2 separate regions of the Homo sapiens genome follow, and region 1 is linked to region 2. Evidence: promoter capture Hi-C in human tissues and cell types (Jung and others, 2019). All regions are on one chromosome and are shown on one strand. Each heading gives the region's core, a stretch centred on a gene start or on the middle of the fragment in contact. The rest is flanking DNA. Distances are from core to core; before and after follow the strand shown. Region 1 overlaps KIAA1549L (KIAA1549 like). Region 2 holds the start of CD59 (CD59 molecule (CD59 blood group)).

Region 1 (5,290 bases), core at 1,661-4,160, 310 kb after region 2:
GATTGCACCATTGCACTCCAGCCTGGGTGACAAGAGCAAAACTCTGCCTCAAAAACAAAAAACAAAACGAGATACCACCTCACACCCACTAGGGTGGAGAAATAGGAACACTTTTACACTGTTGGTGGGAGTGTAAACTAGTTCAACCATTGTGAAAGACAGTGTGGCAATTCCTCAAGGATCTAGAACTAGAGATACCATTTGACCCAGCGATCCCACTACTGGGTATATACCCGAGGGATTATAAATCATGCTACTATAAAGACACATGCACACATATGTTTATTGCAGCACTATTCACAATAGCAAAGACTTGGAACCAACTCAAACGTCCATAAATGATAGACTGGGTTAAGAAAATGTGGCACATATACACCATGGAATACTATGCAGCCATAAAAAAGGATGAGTTAATGTCCTTTGTAGGGACATGGATGAAGCTGGAAAACATCACTCTGAGCAAACTATCGCAAGGACAGAAAACCAAACACCACATGTTCTCACTCATAGGTGGGAACTGAACAGTGAGAACACTTGGATACAGGGCGAGGAACATCACAAACTAGGTCCTGTCGTGGGCGGGGGGATGGGGAGGGAGAGCATTGGGAGAAATACCTAATGTGAATGACGAGTTGATGGGTGCAACAAACCAAATGGCACATGTATACATATGTAACAAACCTGCACGTTGTGCACATGTACCCTAGAACTTAAAGTATAATTTTTAAAAAAACAGGAAATTATAAACGTTGACAAAGAGGTAAGGAAATATAAGGAAATCAGAACACTTGTACATTACCGGTGGTAATGTAAACTGGCCCAGCCACTTGGTCCAAGCTGCAAACAGTTTGGTGGCTCCTTTAAAAGTGAAACAGAACTACCATATGACCCAGCAATTCCACCCCTAGGTATGCACCCAAGAGAACTGAAAACATATGTCCACACAAAAACTTGTACATTCATATTTATAGCAGCACTGGTCACCATAACCAAAAGGTGGAAACAACCAAATGTCTATCAGTGGACGAACTGATAAGCAAAATGGGCTAGATACATACAATGAAACATTACTAACCAATAAAAGGAAATGAAATTCTGATGCATGCTACAACATGGATGAACCTTGCAAACATTATGCTAAATGAATTAAGTTCACATATTGTATGGCTCTAATTATATAAAATATACAGAACAAGTAAATCCATAGACACGGAATGCCAATTTGTGGTTGCCAAACACTGCAGGGGAGAGAAGAGAGGGTGACTACTTAACTAGTAAGGGGGTTGCTTTCAGAATAATGAAAAGGTTTCAGAAGTGGATAGATGTAGTGGCTGCATAACATTATAAATGCTACTGAGTTGTACACTTTAAAACACCAAAATGATGACTTCTATGGTAAGTGGATTTCACCTCAATTAAGAAAAAAAGAGAAAGAATTGGGAAGTGAGGAACCGGAGACAGCCTGTAAGGAAATTATTTCAAGGGGGTTTGCTGAAAAAGAGGAAGGAGAAATAGGGACGGAGGGAGTATAGCAGCGAAGGGGGATGCATGGCCAAGGGAGGGCTTTCCTAACATGGAGAAATGGAAGACAAATCAGCATGCATATCTATGATGGGAGAGGAGCATACTGAGCAGGGGGAACTGCTGGCAGGAGGACCCCGACAGCCTGAGAGGGGATATTGTCTCCCACAAAGGGATCAGAGATGGTTCATCCTCAAAGGGAGAGAAGGCAGGATTCAGGCAGCCAGGTTAAGGCAGTGGTAAGGGCTTGTGGAAATCCTCTTCTACCTGTTTTTTCTTGGGAGATGGGGAGATTTTGTGAGGAAGAGAAGGTATGAAGCAGTCACCCTAGAGAATGGGCAGATGACTGTGCTAGGGAAATAGAGTGGCATTGCTGGGCAGCACCAAAGGCCCACTTGAGGTTCATGGTATAAACTGATGAGACTAATGAGCCTGGTCGTGTGGTTTTCTACCGCCCATTTAGTTGCCTGGGTAAAGGTGGAGAGCTACTGAATTTAATATTTATCCCTAAGTTTCCCCAAAACACATTTGACCACAGAAACCAATTAATAGCCCCAAAGAGCCTACATAAAATGCTAGTCTATGCTTAAACAGATAATAGGGGGTAGGAAAACACTGATTCCTAATTTTCTATCAAGCACAGATATAAATGATAATGGAGGGGCCAGATCTGGAGGCCCTCAGGGGAGCACCCACCAAGGGCAAAGGAGAAAAGATCAGCACAGCTGTCAGAACCTGAGCTTGCAGTCAGATTTCCACTCCATCCAAGTGCTCTTGGGCAAATGAATCTCTCTGAGATGTATCCTAAAATAAGGGAACTATCACCTACCTGCTTTTCAAAAATATTATTAAGATTAATGGTGACAAGCAGTTGGTACCCAGATTCTAGCACATAACAAACTTTCAATCTAAGGGTAATCATCATTATAGCCCCACAGCTCTGCCCAGGTGACCAGGTGAAAGATGATACAGCCAAAATACTATCACCTCCAGGTACTCAACCACCTGTGCACCAGGAGGGCCTCTGGGGATCTCAAAGAGTTAACCCTCCTTGCTCTCAATTTATGGTCAGGAACTCCATCAGTCAAGATACAGTTTGACTCCTTTAGCTTCAGAAAATTGGTCTTTCTAGCTCCTAAATTCATATGCAAGAAATGAAACCCCCTCTACTTCCCATAAAACAGGATATTTCACAAAGCTTTCATGTGTCCCAGTATCATGTTTTTAACTTCTGAAAAAACTTCAGACTCATAGAAAATTACCAAAGCAGAGAGTGCAGAGAGTTCAATACGCTTCACTTGGCTTCCTCTACTGTTAATATCCTACATAACCATAATACAATTACCAAAACCAAGAATATAACACTGATAAATTTATATTAACTACTCTAGACCTTATTTGAATGTTGCTAACTTTGTCTCTAATGTCCTTTTTCTGATGCAGAATCCAATCCAGGGTCCCACATTGCATTTAGTTCTCAAGTCTCCTTAGCCTCCACCAATCTGTGACAGTTCCTCAGTCTTTCTTTGTCTTTCATGACCTTGCCATCTGTGAAGAGGACTGACTAGTCAGGTATTTTGTAGAACTGCCCTTAATTTGGGTTTGTCTGGTGTTTTCTCGTGCTTAGACTGAACTTGTGCATTTTCAGTAAAAATCCCAAAGAAGTGATGTTTTGCCTTTTGCTCTGTGCATCAAAATAAGGAGAACATGTTGACACATCTCATTACTGGTGATGTTATCTTTGATTACTTTATTTGGCTAAAGTAGTGTTTGCTGGGTTTCTCCATCCATATGACGTGTGATGCAAAGTGAAATAGAATTCCAGCCTTTCCTAATAATAGCGGAAATAAGCAGATGTTTTCATCTACGTACAGCAAGTGAGAGGACTTGAACTCAGGTTTTCCAAGTCCAAATGCTGTCTTCATTGTACTCTCATTACTGCATTTGGATGTCTCCCATGAATATTTATCTCAAGTATATTTCAAAGCTTATGTTCCATAAGGAAATGCCACAACAAATCACTCTTATGAGCCCAGGGCTTCTCCAATGAAAGCTACAGTACAAAGTATAAAACACAGTTGTCAGAGAAACAGATATTAACATGAAGATCCCTTGATACATCACAGTGACACAGGAACATTCTCAATGACTGCACTTTATTTGCTGCAAGTACAGAGAACAAATCAGCAGAGAATGAGTCAACCAAGAGAACCAAGAGTCCTCTAATTGACAAAATTTTAAAATAGGACTTGAGGACCAAGAAGAAGAGCTGTAAGAAACACAAGGTAAGTTCTCTTCTGCTCTAGATACTAACGTATATACAAATCTTCAAATCAATTAACTCATCTTAGGCTCTGAAAAGCTCCTTGAGATGGAATTAGAGCACATATTAACATCTCCACCCTACAAATGAATAAAATAAGACATAAAGAGATCAAAGTTTGGTATCTAGAAAGGGAATCAAAATCAAGGTTTTATTTGTTCATTCATTTAACTAGCACTGACTCCCTGCCAACTTTCTATTCTAAGTGCTGGGCATTTGGAGATACTGGAGACCCATGGTCTCTTGACTGGAGGAGTTTAGCTTTCCTCATGCCCTCTGTACAGAGGCCAGAAAGGCAGCACCTCTCCCAACCTCATTCTTCACCTCCTCACCACACAGAGTCCACAGCCATCAGGATTCTACAGAAGCAGGCTGCATCTGTGATGATACTTGGAGAGGAGTATATTTCAATACTCTGTATTTAAAACTTGAACAAAGATCATCATTCTCCTGGTTTATTCTCTTCTGTTTGCCCTTCTCATCAGTACCCAGAGTAGAGCATGTATGAGGGGACTCAAAAAGTTCATGGTAAAAATGAAATTAAAAGATAAAAATACAAAATTTATTTCTTAACATAAGCTCTATCAAGGTCAAGACACTTTTGTAAGTGGTGACATCAGTCATTCAGTGCATCTCTAAAGAACTGAGGGTCCTAGGAATTTAACCATGTCAATGCTGTATTTTTACATTATTAAATGAAGAAAAATGAGTGCCCTCTAAAGATTTTTTTTAAGATTAGGAAACAAAAACAGGCAGAAGGAGCCAAATTAAGACTGCAAGGTGGATGTATAATGGTTTCCCATAGAAACTCTTGCAAAGCTGCCTTTGCTTGATGAGAGGAATGAACTTGTTGTGGTGAAGAAGGACTCTCAGATAAAGCTTTCACAGGTATTTTTCTGCTAAAGCTTTGGCCAACTTTCTCAAAACTCTCATAACAAGCAGATGTTATCATTCTCTGGCCCAGAAAGTCAATAAGCAAACTGCCTTGAGCATCACAAAAAAACGTTGCCATGACCTTTGCTCTTGATCAATCTGCTTTTGCTTTGTCTGGACCACCTCCACCTCTTGCTAGCCATTGCTTTGATTGTGCTTTGTCTTCAGGATTGTACTGGTGAAGCCATGTTTCATCCTCTGTTACAATTCTTCCAATTCTTTTTTTTTTTTCCAAGACAGAGCCTCATTCTGTCACCAAGGCTGGAATGCACTGGCATGATCACAGCTCAAGGCAGCCTCAACCTCCTGGGCTCAGGCAATCCTCCTGCCTCAGCCTGCAGACTAGCTGAGACCACAGGCACATGCCACCATGCCCAGCTAGCTTTTATTATTATTTGTAGAGACAGCATCTCGCTATGTTGCCCAGGCTGGTCTCAAATTCCTAGGCTGAAGCAATTCTCCTGCCTTGGCCTCCCAAAGTGCTCGAATTACAGGCATGAGCCACCGCACTCA
Region 2 (6,111 bases), core at 103-2,602:
GGAGGAAGACTTGTACTTTTGGCCTGTAGCCCCACCCTCCCTCCTATGGCGTTCTTACAGTCAGTTCTGCAGTGAGTGGGACACTTTCCAAATATAATAGCAAATGGAAACTTCTAATTACATCTGCACATAAAACTAATGTTCCAAATGGTGGTTGCGGTTCTGGTGAGTGCTTATAATTTTTTGTTACCTCAGCATCCATTTTTGAATATGTTTAACTTTTAATAACAGAAGCAAGTCTCAGTCACCATTGACAGTTTCCAGTACTATACCCCACGCAAATGGCTCTAGCTGGTGGCCAGAGATAAACATGCAGTGATGTGATAACAGGGCACTACTGCAGCTTCAAACTCTGGTTCAAGTTCCTCCCACCTCTGCCTTTTCACCTGCTTGCTTTTAAATCCACCAGTTAGAGCTCTCCAGAGGAAACCTAACTGGATAAAGTTGCTGGCCCAAAGGTCCGTTCCTCCCTTCCCTCTCCCTGTTCTCCCTGATCTCCGTGTGTGTGTGTGTGTGTGTGTGTGTGTGTGTGTGTGTGTCCTCTAGGCAAGCTGTGTACCACCCAGGGTCCGTAAGTACTAAAAACTCTTAAACTTTCACACCGCTGTGTTATTGAAACCATGCCTACAATCCAGTCCCTGAGGCGAGGCCACCCTGAAGGGACAGACTCATGCAGGCGGATCCCCTGGTCTTGCTCTTCTGTCCCTGCCTCTGGTGGCTGCTGGGGAACAGTAGCTACCAGCTAAGTTGATAGAGACACTCGAAGAGGTTCATTCAAAACACTGGTCCCCGAGCAGCCCAGTAAGCTTTTAAACGCATAACATTTTGTTTGGGTCTCAAACAAGTCACAAGGCACGGATACGGATGCGGCTGTGGCTGATGGCTATTTGGATGCTGCCCAAGCCTCGCAGTAGGAAGCAGCTTCAGACTGCAGCAGGGCCGCATAGCCCGATAGCCAGGCCCTGGGGCACCCAGGGCACCAGCAAGACGCACAGAAACGTTTTGAAAAACATTTTAATATACTTAAAAAAAAAGTAAAAGGGAAAATCAGAAGTCTTTGGAAGTTTCCTACTGTTTTTATGTCCCATAGCAAATCCGAGGAGGACGCCCCAAACTTTCAGTTCCCTGGGGTTTTGAAGGTGCTCATTGGGTCCTGGCCACCCGGCCTTCTCAGAACCTGGGCCAGGAGGCTGAGCTCCGCGCGGGGGTGGAGGGAGAGGAGGAGGTTCCTGCCGAGGTGCGGCTGCGCGGTGCGGGAGCCGGGAGCCTGGGAGGGCAAGGGCATCCTGAGGGGCGGGGCCGGGGGGCGGAGCCTTGCGGGCTGGAGCGAAAGAATGCGGGGGCTGAGCGCAGAAGCGGCTCGAGGCTGGAAGAGGATCTTGGGCGCCGCCAGGTAAGAAGGCCCGAAGGCCTGCTGGGGTTTGGGTGAGCCGAGCCGAGGTGGCGGCGGCAGTCTGGGCCCGGGCGGAGGGTCTGTGGGGGCTACCCCCGTCCTCGCTTTCCACTCGACCCCTGCCGGGCGAGCCTCCCGAGGCCTGGCCCTTCCAACCCGTCACCGCGGCCCGGTGTCCTAGCCGAACGCTGGCTTCATTTTATCTACGAGGAAGGAGAAACGGGGAGCGCGCCCTCTCCCAGAAGCAGCCCCGTTACCCCCGTCGCGCCCCCCATTCCCTCGGGGGCAGCCTCGCACCCGGGCCCCTGCCATCGCTTTCGTCTCAAGGGAAGCTCTAGCGGTCCAGAGAAACTGCGCCGGGGGAAAGGCCAGCCCTCCGTGGTCACGGCAGTTCCTCTCTCCCCTCGCGGTCTAAATGTGTAATTTTGAAAAGCAGGTGTCGGGCGAAACGGACTTTTTTTTTTTTTTGAGATGGAGTTTCGCTGTTGCCCAGGCTGGAGTGCAGTGGCGCGATCTGGGTTCACCGCAACCTCCGTGTACCGGGTTCAAGCGATTCTCCTGCCACAGCCTCCTGAGTAGCTGGGATTACAGGCATGCGCCACCATGCCTGGCTAAATTTTGTATTTTTAGTAGAAACGGGGTTTTCCCATGTTGGTCAGGCTGATCTTGAATTCCTGACCTCGTGATCCGCCCGCCTCCGCCTCCCAAAGTGTTGGGATTACAGGTGTGAGCCACCGCGCCCGGCCGAAACGGACGTTTTAAGTACAACGTGATGTTTTGTTTTCTTGGGTCGGCTCGGGCCGCACCCTTCTTAGAGTCTGACTGCTGACTTTTCAAAAAACAACATTAACCCGGGAGGCTGAGGTAGCGGTGAGCCGAGATCGCGCCATTGCCCTACTGCCTGGGCAATAAGAGCGAGACTCCGCCTCAAAAACGAACAAAACCCACAAAGAACAAACAAAAAAAACCAACATTAAGCAGTGTGCCTTTTATGGCCGTTTAGTGATACCCAGGCTCTTCACTGGTCATTTCTGGAAGTATTTAACAGCACTTGATGGGTAAAACAATAGGCTTCACTTCACAGGGTGGTTGAGATGATTGACGGAAAGCGCTCAGCACAAACGCGGCGGCTGCTAATTATTTCAGGTACCCTGCGATCCCTGAGCAGTTGTTCAAGTTCTCCACTCCTGGCGGTTTACTCCCAGTTCCCTGAAGAAGGCACAGAGCCCCGAATGTTGAGGGAGATGGCAACGTTTGCCAAAATGTGGCTATTTACGTGGCAGTTTATGAAGGAGAGGCAGAAAGGGAGGCTGCCTCCCCTACAAGCCAAACAGTCCTAAAACTTGTGGCCTCTGTATTTTCACAGTGGAAACTAGAAACTGTTTGCTGAACTTAGCTGTAAGAAAAACATCCCATTAGCTGAGTGGCTTAGGAGATAAAAGCCTAAATAAAATGGATCTTAGGGTGAGAGAGTGGGGTGCCTAATGGCATTCATCTTTGACAGCTGCTGGTAGAAGCTCTTGAAAAGTAGAGCATGGAAAATTCTGGGCCACCTCTTTAAGAACCTCAGCCAAACCGCCACAGACATTGCCAAGCCCAGAAGTGCTTGAGGCTTTCTAAAGGCAAAGACTTCTTTTTACTTATGTCCTATATCTTAGGAAACATATTCACTAAACCTTGGTTTTGCATGTGTACTTAACACGGGAGGGGCCGTGAGTGCGGAGATAGGACTCTTTGGAGAGTTAGGGATTGGCATTCCGGAACAAACTGCAGGAAAGGCCCTTGTAGGGGAAGCTGCAGATTTGTTTGGTCCAAAGAGTTCTGGCCTAATAAGTGGGAGCTGACCAATGAGAACACTTGGACACAGGGAGGGGAACAACACACACTGGCGCCTGTCGGCAGGTGGGGTGGGTGGGGATAGAGCATTAGGAAAAACAGCTAATGCATGCTGGGCTTAATACCTAGGTGATGGGTTGATAGGTGCAGCAAACCACCATGGTACACGTTTACCTATGAAACAAATCTGCACATCCTGCACATGTACCCTAGAATTTATATGTATATCACACAAAGAGTTTTGGAGTGGTTATTCCTGGCATGAGAACCTTGGCTGGATTGGAAAGCCTTTTCCGTTATGATGGTTGTTTTCTCTTTGTCTCTTCCTGCTGATGTAATTTGTTCCGTGAACTGAGTGATGGATGTTTGTCTGGGCGCTTCAACAGGCATGGCTAGAGCAGGTATTGTGTATGTCTCCAAGGTGACACGCAGACCTGGGGTTCAAAAGCTCTAGTTCTCTGACATTGCTGACACTAGGTATCTTGTGAGTTGCCAGCCCCTGGCGAATAGAAACAAGATCCATCCAGGGTGGTTTTGCGACTAACATGTTGCCTTGGGACAGGTAATTTCATCCCACTGGGCCTCCACTAATTTCCTATAAAATAAAAACATTGGGTTTTATTTTGAGGACACTTCTAGCCTTAAAATTCTTCAGTCTGTAAGGCCTCAGGCTCCTAGGAGGAGTAACCATACTCATGGGCAACTGTGAATCTTGTGGAAACACCACTGATGTCAACTCTCTTCTCTAATGACCTCAGCTTAACTAATGTATTTCAGAAGCTGAATTTATAAGAAGTCTCCCGTCTCCCCACTAGAGTTTAACTATGGTTCGTTCACTCAGAGCTTAGACCTGGGTTTAAATGCTGTTCTACCAGTTTCCAGTTCAGAGGTTGCTATAATAATTTTAATAATTTTTTTTTTTAATTTTGAGACAGTCTCTCTCTGTTGCCCAAGCTGGAGTGCAGTGGCACAGTCTTGGCTCACTGCAACCTCCACCTCCTGGGTGCAAGCGATTCTCGTGTCTCAGCCTCTCAAGTAGCTGGGATTACAGGTGAGTGCCACCACATCTGGCTAATTTTTGTATTTTTTTTAGTAGAGACAGGGTTTCACCATGTTGGCCAGGCTGGTCTGGAACTCCTGGCCTCAAGTGATCCACCCGCCTCAGCCTCCCAAAGTGCTGGGATTATAGGCATGAGCCACCACACTCGGCCTTATAATAATTTTCTACTGCTGCTGAAACCACCACAAATTTAGCTGTTTCAAATGCCACAAGTTTATTAATCTTTCCATTCTGTAAATCAGAAGTCTGACACAGGTCTCACAGGGCTGTAATCAAGGTGGCAGGGCTCTGTGCTGCTCTGGAGGCTCTAGGGGAGAGTCTGTTTCTGTGCTCATTCAGGTTCCTGGTAGAATATAGTCCTTGTGACTGGAGGACTGAGGTTCTGTTTCTTTGCTGAGTGTCAGTTGAGGACCATTCTTAGCTTCTAAAGGCCGCCTGTGTGCCTTGGCTTAGGGAACCCTTCGTGTCTTCATCTCATTCTTCAAATTTCTTGCCTCTTTTTCTGTTGTCGGTCATGAGTCTTTGACAGACTCTGCTACCTTCTTCCTCTTTCAATGACCCCTGGGATTACATTGGGCCCATTGAATAATCCAAAATAATCTCCTTAATCTCATCTACAAAGTCACTTGCCATGCAAGGTCTCCTGTTTTCACAGGTTCCTGGAGTTAGGATACGGACATTTTTGGGGAAGAGAGGCATTATTCTACCTACCACATAAGTTAGTTGCATAAATTAGTTCTCTTCCTCAATCTTGTTTCCTCCCCCTGTAATTGGAGGCAAAGGTTCAGTTTACCTTATGGTATTATTGTGAGGATTAACTCCAGTTACTATGTCAAGAGCATCTATCTTAGCAACTGGCCCTTGATATTTGCTCACCAAATGGAAGTTAACACAGGAACAAGGTGTATTAGTCCATTCTCACACTGCTATAAAGAAGTACCTGAGACTGGGTAATTTATAAAGAAAAGAGGTTTAATTGGCTCGCAGTTCTTTGGGCTGTATAGGCTTCTGCTTCTGGGAAGGCCTTAGGAAACTTAGAATCATGGTGGAGAAGGGGAAGCAAGAATGCCTTACTTGGCGGGAGCAGGAGGAAGACAGCAAAGGGGGAAGTGCTACACACTTTCAAACAACCAGATTTCCTAAGCTCTGCCACAAGACAGCACTAGGGGGATGGTGCTGAACTGTTAGAAACCACCCCATAATCCAGTCACCTCCCACCAGGTCCCTCCTCCGACACTGGGGATTAAAATTCAACATGAGATTTTGGAGGTGTATTAGTCCATTTTCATGCTGCTGATAAAGACATACCGAAGACTGGGTAATTTGTAAAGAAATAGAGGTTTAATGGACTCACAGTTCCACGTGGCTAGGGATGCCTCACAATCATGGCAGAGGGTGAAAGGCACGTCTTACTGGCAGCAGACAAGACAGAAATATGAGAGCCAAGTGAAAGGGGAAACCCCTTATAAAACCATCAGCTCTTGTGTGACTTATTCACTACCACAAGAACAGTATGGGGGAAACCGTCCCCAGTGATTCAATTATCTCCCACCAGGTCCCTCCCACAACACGTGGGAATTATGGGAGTTACAATTCAAAATGAGATTTGGGTGGGAACACAACCAAACCATATCACAAGGTCTTGCCTAATGGCTTGCATTCAATGTCATAATCATATGGGCCCTTAAAAGTAGAAGCGGCTCCTAAATATTTAAGAACTAACAGCTTCTTTTATAACCCTGTTGGAAGAAACATTTCCAACCCAATCTAAAGTAACCTGGCCCTTATGCCAGGTCACCCTCTAACCCAGTGGTTCTTAGTG

Evidence for each region. Contacts are between HindIII fragments. The study calls those that stand out against the background at their distance.
Region 1: a contact is called between a fragment that was not itself captured here and the fragment with the promoter of CD59 in region 2, in 1 of the 25 tissues and cell types used here (dorsolateral prefrontal cortex).

What each region holds. Positions count from the first base shown.
Region 1 is chr11:33,423,749-33,429,038 of GRCh38, reverse strand. The region is part of intron 1 of KIAA1549L (KIAA1549 like); the gene reads right to left. Among named protein-coding and RNA genes, the nearest start is that of KIAA1549L, 50 kb to the right of the region's middle. The HindIII fragment of the contact is 4,649 bases long and covers 586-5,234 here.
Region 2 is chr11:33,731,664-33,737,774 of GRCh38, reverse strand. CD59 (CD59 molecule (CD59 blood group)) reads left to right here and starts at 1,352. Exons shown (of 4, transcript NM_000611.6): 1 at 1,352-1,393. RefSeq lists a silencer at 1,234-1,703 and an enhancer at 5,193-5,322. The HindIII fragment of the contact is 16,078 bases long and covers 1-6,111 here.